Linked DNA regions of Homo sapiens: region 2 is linked to region 1. Evidence: promoter capture Hi-C in human tissues and cell types (Jung and others, 2019). All regions are on one chromosome and are shown on one strand. The core of a region is centred on a gene start or on the middle of the fragment in contact, and the rest is flanking DNA. Distances in the headings are between cores, read along the strand shown.

Region 1 (5,301 bases), core at 2,275-4,774:
CATCTTCCACCGGCAGGGGGCAGACCTGAGCCACGGGAGGCTGCTGCAGCGCCGGCTCAGAAATTTTGCAGTCAACTCCAAGTGTGGTCCTCCCACCCGCGGGAGCAGCGGCAGCCCGGGGACTTGGAAGAAATGCACATTCTCCACTCCGGAAACGCTGGAGTGGCGGCAGCAGTCTGAGTTGTAACAAGCCCTTATGGGAATTCCAAGGTTGACCAGTACCGTCCTCAATGCTACCAGGTAAACACGCTTATAAGAGCTTGGTGTCCAGCTCAGATGGGAAAACTGAATTATTACCTGCAAAGCGTTTTGCCTCAGGGGCTCAGAATCATGCAAGCATGTTGGTGGCTTGTTTTCTAGGTCCCCGTTACATCTCTAAAACTCAAGGTCTACACAGACCCTGTGCATCTTGCTGGTGCCTGCCTAAGTGAGTCCTTTTCACCCCGGGTGAACACAGCAGCACATGGATGCAGACAATGCCAAAGTCCCACTCACGGCTCAGACTTCTAAGTGCCAAAGAGCTTTTCCTTCCCTGGGTGGGGGTGGGGTAGGAGAAATCCCCCTCCAGCAGATCTCCCTTTTATAATAAAAAGTGCTAAATGAAGAAAGTCTGATGCTTAAAATGGATGCTGGAATGTTAACAGTTGAATTGGAATTTTAAGTATATGACTAAATTCAAGACTGGATCTGCAGCCAGGATTCTCACTCCATTCCTTCTTCAGAATGAACTTGGAGGGGCTGTAAGACCGCTATGGGGATCAAAGGCTACATTCAGAGCCCATGCTCCCAGGGCCTGTGGACCATGCCAAGGTCTGGAGGCATCGGCTTAAGTCCACAATTGAGAGTCATGAAATTTCTCTACTACAACAAACAGGGCTATAATGTGTAACCCTAGCAGGGAGCTCAGGTGGCCCATCTGGTCCACAGTCTATTCTAGAAAGCTACCTGGGGCTGCAATGATTTGGCTGCAGATGCTCTGCTCTCCCCTGGAAGTGGCTACTGGCAGGTCACTCACCAGGGCCTTAGGAAAGTCCCTCTCCTCTCTGGGTCTTAGTTTCCTCACCTGCCAAACAGCTCACTGAGGTCCTGCTGTAAAGTTCCCCAAGGGGTTTCATACCTTGGGAAGCACACATTCCCAGGGTCCAGCACAGAGCCTCACAGAGGAGGTCCCTACCTGCGAGGATTTGGTTTCAATTTCTTTTAATCTTAGCTTGCTTTCTTTTTCAAGGAAATACTGAGATAAAAGAGATACTAAGAATGTAAATACTCTAAGAACATGTAAATAAACGTATTTATACTTCTTTTCTAAGAACCTTGAGTAATTTCTTAAATTTCCTTGGTTTCTTCTTAATGCCTGGGCTGCAGACTAGGGCATGAAGACAAAACAGTTCTATTTAAGCAACAGATAATTGTGACTTTTGACTGTCGAAAATTTACCTTTTTTTGTCAAATAGATTCTAGAAGTCACTTAGATCTTTTTATAATCTTATAACTCACATCAACCTATACTACAGTGCTACTAAGGTGGTAATCATGATGATTGCTAAAGCCCAAGAATGACGATGTGTATCAGTATTTCTAAGATCACTTTTTGAATACCCCAAAATGCACAATAATGTACGACACTTGGCAAATGACATAACTTTGCCCCGAGAGACAAATGCCTCCAGCAGCTTTAACAGCTGACCAGAGCCAGTGTATGTTTCAGGCATCTTGCCTTTCCATGAATCCAGCATTTCTCAGGGGTGAACAGAGCCAGCCTTGCCGAGCCAGAAAATAACTTCACCCGGGCGTGGAACTCTACAGCTACATAAATTATAAAGGGACTGTTCATCCTGCTAGCCCTAGATGGGGGCCTGCCCAGTGACATCTGTCCAACGTGATCGTTGGGGAGTTGGGGGAATTAGGATGGGGAGAATTCTCCCAGCCTTCAGCTGTGCAAGGCAGGAACTTTATTTCTCATATAACTAGGTGAGGCTGGCTAAGAATGCTTGAAAGAACAGCTGCCAAATCCATTTAAACAACCCCCGCTCCTTTTTTTAAGGGAACAATGTGATGCCCTTACCAGAGTCGCTGTCTGCCTGATACTGATAGTGGCTAAGCCAAGAGGGTAACTCTGCCAAATGTTTGCATTTTTCCTCTTCTGGGGCTCCCCTTAACAACATCTCATTCCCCCCCCCATTTCAGATTAAGAAGGGAGACAGCCCTAGGACTGATTCCAATTCCCTTCCGTGTCATTGAAATTGACTTAGTCCACATTGCCCGCACCCACCACGCACCTGGAAGTTTGTTTGAGGTCGGCGCAGGTGCAGGGGTGGCCCGAGTTGTAAGAATGGTATGGTACTGAAAGTGGCACGCGGAGTTCAAACCTACACTCTGTTGTGGCCGCTGGGTAACCTTAAGAAGTTACTTCTTTTTCAGCTTCAGGTTTTCCAACCGCAGAAGATATCAAAACCCGAATCCACTTTACTTGTTTTTGGACATACCGGGACTAGACATTGCTTTGCAAACCAAAAGGCTGTGCAAAGTCAGTATTTTAAAAGAGAGGTACTATTTCCTACAACGTGCCTGCCCACCTTCCTTGGTCCAAATCCGCCTATATCCCCCCCATCCCCAAGCATCCCTGGGATTGCAGTCCGTGTGCACCCCCGTGCGGGGCGAGGAGAATCTCCTGTGTCCAGGATCTTTCCAACAGCTAAACATCGGTACCGCTCCCCTCAGCTCCGGAAACCTTTAACCCATTTTCACTGAAAGCGCTTTGCAATTTACAAGTACTCTGCACTTAGAGAATCGAGCAAGTAGAGGGCCGGCTGGGGAGGGTCCCTCCGGCGACCGCCTTCACCTTTCCCGGAGCGCCTTCAGTTTCCCCACATATTATCTCCAGTGAGAAGAAAAGCGGAGTCTCCCGCAGCGGCACCCAGCAACCCCCAGGCCCTTCGGCGCCAGTGCGCCGGGTGCTGCACGCAGCGCACCTGGCGCGGGCGGCTCACCTGGAGCTGGCGGCGCTGGCAGCAGGTAGGCGCGCAGGCGGCTGACGGCACTAGCGTTGACGCAGAGCCCGCGGCCGTCCAGCAGCGCCTGCAGCGGTCGCGCCTCGTCGGGCGACGGCTGGCAGCGAAGGCCGGAGCCACAGCGCTCGGTGTAGATGCCGCACGGCTGGCCCTCGCTCAGTGCGCACGTCAGGCAGCAGCCGCAGCCCGGCTCGCGCACCAGCTCCGCGCACACGGCGGGCGGAGGCGCGCACTGGGCCAGTGCACGCGCGTCGCACGGCTCGCAGCGCACCACGGGACCCAAGCCCGCCGAGCTCGCGCCAGCCCGCGCCACCGGCGGCCCGCGGAGCAGCACCAGCAGAGTCAGCGCAGCGGCCCAGAGCGTGGGTCGCGCCCGCTGCATGACGCCTGCAACCGGGGCACGCTGCTTGGCAGGCTGGGCGCGCAGGGATGGGGCGACAGTACACGGCGCGAAGCTGTGGAATCCAGGCAGGAAGCGGCTGATCCTCAGCGCCCAGCCGCAGTGCTCGCATCTGGGCGGCCCGGGCGCGCCGGCCGCTATATAGAAGCCGGGGTGGCCCAGGACACGCCCCGGAACGGCGCGCCCAGGAGTGGGGGTTGGGAGGGGGGCGGGTCGGCGCAGGCACGGCTGCGGGGGCCCGTGCTTCGCCCTGAGCAGCCGGGGCCGAGCTCGGGGGCGTGCAGCTCGAGACTCGCCCGGGCACCTGCTCCTCGTGCGCACGCCCGGAGCCCGGGTCACCTTGTCGTCTACAAGAACCAAGGTGTGCCCGGCCACCCCGGCACTCCAGGCCACCTCAGCACCCCCGGTCACCCCAGTCACTCCTGGCCAACTCAGCACCCCCGATCTCCTTGACCCCGCCGCCCTTACCCCTTCCGCTCTCGGGGTGAGGTCTCCCTGCGGCGAGCCGGTGTCGGGGAAACTGGCATACAGCGCTCCGCATTCGTGTGTACCTCGTGGAGCTTTCTAAAATTTAATTCCGTTGGCAGGCGAAGTCTTGGGACATTTCTGACTTACATTTGGGTCTCAGGGAGCCAAGGCACTGCGGGGTTTAATTTACACCCGCTGGGCTGTTTATATCCCCAGGGGCCCACAAATACGCATCTGAAGATGCGCCCGGGGCCTTCGCCCCTTTCCAGGCTTACTTCTCAACGCAAGAAGACTCTCACGTGTTGCTACACCGCAAGTCTCCAATTAAGAGTGGACCGGCAAGCGAATGCGTCCTTAAGGCAGGGCTTTTCAAATATTTTAAATGACAACTGTTCTTCTTGTCTTGGGTATTCTCCCTGATTATGTTTTCAAATGGAGTTTACACCCATGACAAAAGAATAATAAAGACAATAAACTGGGCACTGCTGAAACGTAATTAACCAAATAGTCCTTTAATAGGCAATTTTCATTGTCATTTTTTGAAGGCGACTTCGTATTACTGTATTCTCGATGCGTTGGGATTCTAGCTTATCTCTGCAATCTAAACACTTTTCAGTAAAGTTCGGGGGCGCAATTGCGCGCTGAGGTCGCTGTAACTCCTGTCGGCCTTCTCTGGCACTCGAGTTTCTTCAGTTTTGTCTGCGCACCCCCTCCCTTCGGTGACCAACAGAGGACGCTGGTGGTCCAGGATTGGATTGAGGATTAAATTTTTCAAGGCACTTTTCCAAAGAGTTTGTGGGGGTGGAGTGGGAAGCGGTGAGACCTCCGCGGGAGGAGACTTTCCTGAACGCTGTTGAAATTGGACGCTTGCCTTAGGAGGTGGATAGGTGACTTGAAGGAGCCCTTTGCAGTTTGGAGTAGTAATAGCAAATCAGGAGCTCCTCCATTCCCCTCCAGCACGAAGCCTTGGGTGAAGTTAATCTTCATTCATCATTTCTGTCTCTCCTAATCGATCTCTCGCCCAGTGTCTCTCCTTGTCCCTCTCCCTCCCTTTCTCTCTCTCGTCCTCTCCCCTTTTCCCCCTGTCCACCTCTTCCCCCATATCTATACAGCTTCCTTTTATACATATATACTCTCCTTTTAGAATGGAAAGATCAATTTCGTTCCCTCTTGTACTAAATAAATAAATAATTGGACCTCTACAAATAAAAAGAGACCAAAGACAAGAACAATGGAGTGCCCCGGGGTGACGAAGGCCCAGCACCGTCATTTTCTTATGAGCTCTTCTCCCACAGTGCTCAGGCTGTGGCTACACTCAACCTTGTTTACAGGAAACCGTGCCATAATCGTCGCTTGCTGTTTCCTTTCTCTTGTATCACCTCCTTCTAGTATCTGCGTTGACACCCAAGAACAGGATCTCTG
Region 2 (4,824 bases), core at 2,053-4,552, 1.0 Mb after region 1:
CAAGTAGCTGGGATTACAGACAAGCACTACCAGATGAATTAGAAATCTAAAAACATAAGCAGAAACACTCTAAGAGGCAGAGAGGAGTTAGAAGAGTTTTTTTTGTTTTGTTTTGTTTTGTTTTCTTTTGTTTTGTTTTGTTTTGTTTGGCAGTAAGCGACATAAAGATTATAATTCAAAAGGTCCAGGGTAATGGCCCAAAGGAATTCACAGATTCTTCATTAAAAACCCTGAATGCCAGTGGTGATGAGGCCTTTGGAAATGCAACTCCATTTGTACTAAGCGTAATCCCTAATTGGATTAAAATAATCATTTACCACCTGACCAGTGAAGGGAAGAGTAAATCTTCTTTAGAGGAATACATTATCTGAAGACTTTCCAATTTTAAATTATACAATAAGTTGCATTCAAAAAAATACTATTTAGTCTGAAAGATAGGATTACATAAGCTATAGTTGAGGACAAAAATAGATAATACAAACAGACCCATGGACCAACCAGATGTGGAAGTTAGCTGGCCAAAATATTAAAATACTTGTGCTTAATGTGCTCAAAAAAATGATAAACAAAATTAGCCAAAAAAAATGGAAAATTAATCAAATGAGAATTGTAATCTTTAAAAATAACCAAATAACTTTAGGGAAAAAAAAACAAGAAGACATGATATCTGAAATAAGAACTTATAAGATAGATTTAACAGCAGATGAACAAAACAGAAATAGGGTTACATATGAGTGAAAAACAATCAGAAACTATCCAATATCCAGTAGAAAATATCTAATCTAAAGCATAGAGAAAAAAAGTGTAAATACGAAGGAGAATGTTAAAGAAATATGAAACTTAATGAAAAAATGTAACCTAGTGTGGGAGGCAGCCTTTAAAATGGGTCTCAATTATCTATACCTCCTGCTACACACACACCCTTTTGTGATCACATCCCTTTGATGCGGGCTGCACCTAGTTATAATTTCTAATAAGTAGAATACTTGAAAAGAAATGATATTTTTTAAGATAAAGCAATTGAGGCACAAAGAATTTATGTAACTTACCACAGGTCATCCATATAACAATGGGAGAGCCAAAATTTAAGCCAGGTTTGGTTTAAGAGTCCATTTTCATAGCACCTCTCCTAAGATGTTTTTCATGATTAGAAACAGTCATAAACTGGATGTGGAAGAGAGCTTTATTGACTTGATACAAAGTCTTCAGTTAGACTTACAGCACACATCAAAACTGAGTGTGACATTCCAGAAGAATAACCATTTAATCACAACTATCACAGCTAATTTTTTGATGGTGCTCAGTTGCTAGCAATTGCAGTAAAGCAATACATAAAAGCAAAGAACACCTGATTTTATTATGAGATGATATGGATATTTATCTAGAAGTTCAAGGGAATTTCTAGGTGATGGCATTGAAAATAGCAGAGTAAGAAACTGAAAAAAAATGACTCTTAAAAAGTAACAAAAATACTGGCAAAAGTGTCAGTCAAATTTTAGTAACTTTGGAAACTAACTAAAACTTCAGAAACCAGAGGAACCCTTATTTAAGAAACATGGATCTTATTTCAGTAAAAACATTGAGCTTTGTGATAATTTAACTTCTCCTACTCTCAGCCTCCACTCCCCAGCTTAGCAGTAGCTTTGAAAATTACAGTCTGCATTCACAGCACCAGTACTAGAGAGGGCAGAATTAATTTCAGTCACAAATGATTGTAATTGTTGGCCAATCATGTGGCTCAGGTTTGTAATCCTAGCACTCTGGAGAACTAGGTGGGAGGATCTCTCGTGTCTGGGAAGTCAAGACTGCAATGAGCTATGTTTGTGTCTCGGCACTCTAGCCTGGGTGACCAGAGTGAAACCACGTCTCAAAATAAAATAAGATAAAATAAATTATAATTGTCTGGTAGCTTCCTGGAAAACTAGCACAAAAGGCTCAACTTGATCTTGCCTAACTCAGAGCTCACCCAGTGCTGTAACTGTTACTTAAGGAATATTTTTTCAAAATTTTACCAAAAAAAAAACTTATGTTTTGGTTGTTTTTCCTAAGGCAATGGATAAAAATTGAGAAAAAAAACAATATTTTAAAAATTTGGAAGTAAGGGTTGGGGAATAAAATGGTTTGAAAAATAAGAGCTTTGAAAAGCTCTATATATTTTATATACATATATATAAATCTAGAAGGCCACATACATGCCTAGAGCTGTGCACTTGCCCAGGAGAGACCTGAGAAGACTCTAATCTGTCATCTCTGCTGACCTTTGGGCTGTAAAAGCAGGAAGTTAAGCCTAAAGCATGGTTGTAGTCTTCTTGAGTACGGGCTGAGGGCATGCCCACTGTACACATAAAGCCCCTCTGCAAAGAATATGATAAGTTTTTGGTTTAGTTTTTGTTTTGGCATCAAAATAACTTTTGCTCAATAATTAGTTGACCACTAAGCTACTGTAACAGAGACTTTAGTGGTCACACACAACAAAGACACAGTCTATACAAAATTACTTCAGAGAAGTCATGAAACAAACAAGCAGAAAAATAATAATTATAATAAGCAGCAACAACAAATTCTTATGAAAAAAAACAAGGAACCTGATTGTCAGAATTTCCTCCTTATATTATACAAAATATGCTGGTTTTTAACAAAATATTACAAGACATGCAAGGAAATAAGAAACATAAACAGAAAAACATCTATTAATATACATTGCCCCTCAAAGGACATGAATAACCACTTTTCAAAAAAAGATATACAAGCAGCCAACAAATGTGAAAAAATGCTCAACATTACCAATCATGAGAGAGATGAAAATCAAAACCACAATGAAATACCATCTGACACCAATCAGAATGGCTATTATTAAAAAGTCAAAAAATGGCCAGGAATGGTGGCTCACACCTGTAATCCCAGCACTTTGGGAGGCCAAGGCAGGCGGATCATGAGGTCAGGAGATCGAGACCATCCTGGCTAACACAGTGAAACCCCGTCTCTACTAAAAATACAAAAAAATTAGCCAAGCATGGTGGCGGGCACCTGTAGTCCCAGCTACTCGTGAGGCTGAGGCAGGAGAATGGCGTGAACCCGGGAGGCGGAGCTTGCAGTGAGCTGAGATTGCGCCACTGCACTCCAGCCTGGGTGACAGAGTAAGACTATCAAAAAAAAAAAAAAAGGTCAAAAAATAACAGATATTGACAAGGTTTGGGAAAAAAGAGAGTGCTTATTAGTTGAAAAGATAATGCTACACTGCTGGTGGGAATGCAAATTAGTTCAGCCCCTGTAGAGTTTTCAAAAATCTCTGAGGAGATTTCTCAAAGAACTAAAAATGAATTACCATTCACTATCAATTCCATTACCGGGTATATATCTGAAGGAAAATAAATTGTTCTACCAAAAAGACACCTGCACTTGTATGTTCATCACAGCACTGTTCGCAATAGCAAAAACACACAATCAACCCAGGTGCCCATCAACGGTGGACTGGATAAAGAAAGTGTACATATATATCATGGAATACTAGGCAGACATAAAAATAATGAAATCATGTCCTTTGTAGCAAGGTGGATGCAGCTGGAAGCCATTATCCTAAGCAAATTAACACAGAAACAGAAAACCAAATAATACATGTTCTCACTTATAAATGGGAACTAAACTTTGAGTACACAAGGACACAATGATGAGAACAAAAAACACTGGAGATTCCAAAAGTAGGGAGGGAAGGGGGAAGGTGGCAAGGATTGAAAAATTACCCATCAGGTACTATGTTCACTACTTGGGTGATAGGATCACTAAAAGCCCAAGCCTCAGTGTCATGCAATTTACCCATCACAAACCTGCACATGTACCTCCTCAGTCTAGAAAAAAATTAATAGAAATTGTCTCTGAGGAAGACCAGAGAGTGAATTTACTAGACAAAGACTTAAAGTCAGCTAATTTAAATATGTTCAATGTACTAAAAAGAAAATATGTCTGAAAACATGTCTAAAAACCTACACTATAAAATCCTTTCTCACCAAAAAGGAGTTATATCAATAAGGAGATATAAATATTACAGAAATTTCTATATTTTACAAATAGAAAGAGATAGCAATTATAAAAAGGACCAGACTACAGATCTTAAGAATAACTGAAAAGGAAAATTCACTAGAGGGGTTCAACAGCAGATAAGAGAAGACAAAAAGAACCAGTAAATTTGGAGATAGGGCAAAGAAAATTTTCTAGTCTGGAGAACAGAAAAAAAAATTGAACAGAGCCTAAAGGACTTGTAGAAAACCACTAAGCATACCAACATATGCATAATGGAAGTTCCAGAATCAAAGAAAAGAATAAAAGGTGCAACAAGAATACTTAAAAAAAATTGTCAAAAAAAATTCCTAAATTTGATGAAATGCACTAATCTACACATCCAAGGAGCTTAAAAACTATAGGTAGTACCAAATGAAGAAGATCCACACATCATAAACTGACAAAAACCAAAGACAGAAATGACACAGCACATACAAGGGATTCTCCCAAAATTAACAGCTGATTTCTCATTTGAAAACTATGAAGACCAGAAGATAATAGGATGACATATTCAAAGTGCTGTGGGGAAAAAAAAAAAACTGTCAGGTAAGCTTGTTATATTCAGAAAAAAAAAACTATCCTTCAAAAATTAAAGAGAAATAAAGACATTTCCAGAATAATAAAATACAATAAAGTTCATTGCTAGCAGAACTGTATGAAAAGAAACACTAATGGGAGAGAGAAAGAAATGGCACACAGTGGGAGGCATGAGTCTGTGGACATTTTTGGAATGTTTTGGTTCTGTTTTGTTTTAAAACTGGGCAATAC

Evidence for each region. Contacts are between HindIII fragments. The study calls those that stand out against the background at their distance.
Region 2: a contact is called between a fragment that was not itself captured here and the fragment with the promoter of IGFBP3 in region 1, in 1 of the 25 tissues and cell types used here (lymphoblastoid cells).

Annotation. Positions count from the first base shown.
Region 1 is chr7:45,917,748-45,923,048 of GRCh38, forward strand. IGFBP3 (insulin like growth factor binding protein 3) reads right to left here and starts at 3,525. Exons shown (of 5, transcript NM_000598.5): 1 at 2,991-3,525. The coding sequence starts at 3,393. RefSeq lists enhancers at 3,328-3,908, 3,909-4,489. The HindIII fragment of the contact is 8,943 bases long and covers 1-5,301 here.
Region 2 is chr7:46,959,420-46,964,243 of GRCh38, forward strand. No RefSeq gene overlaps it. Among named protein-coding and RNA genes, the nearest start is that of SNORD151, 500 kb to the right of the region's middle. The HindIII fragment of the contact is 3,930 bases long and covers 1,338-4,824 here.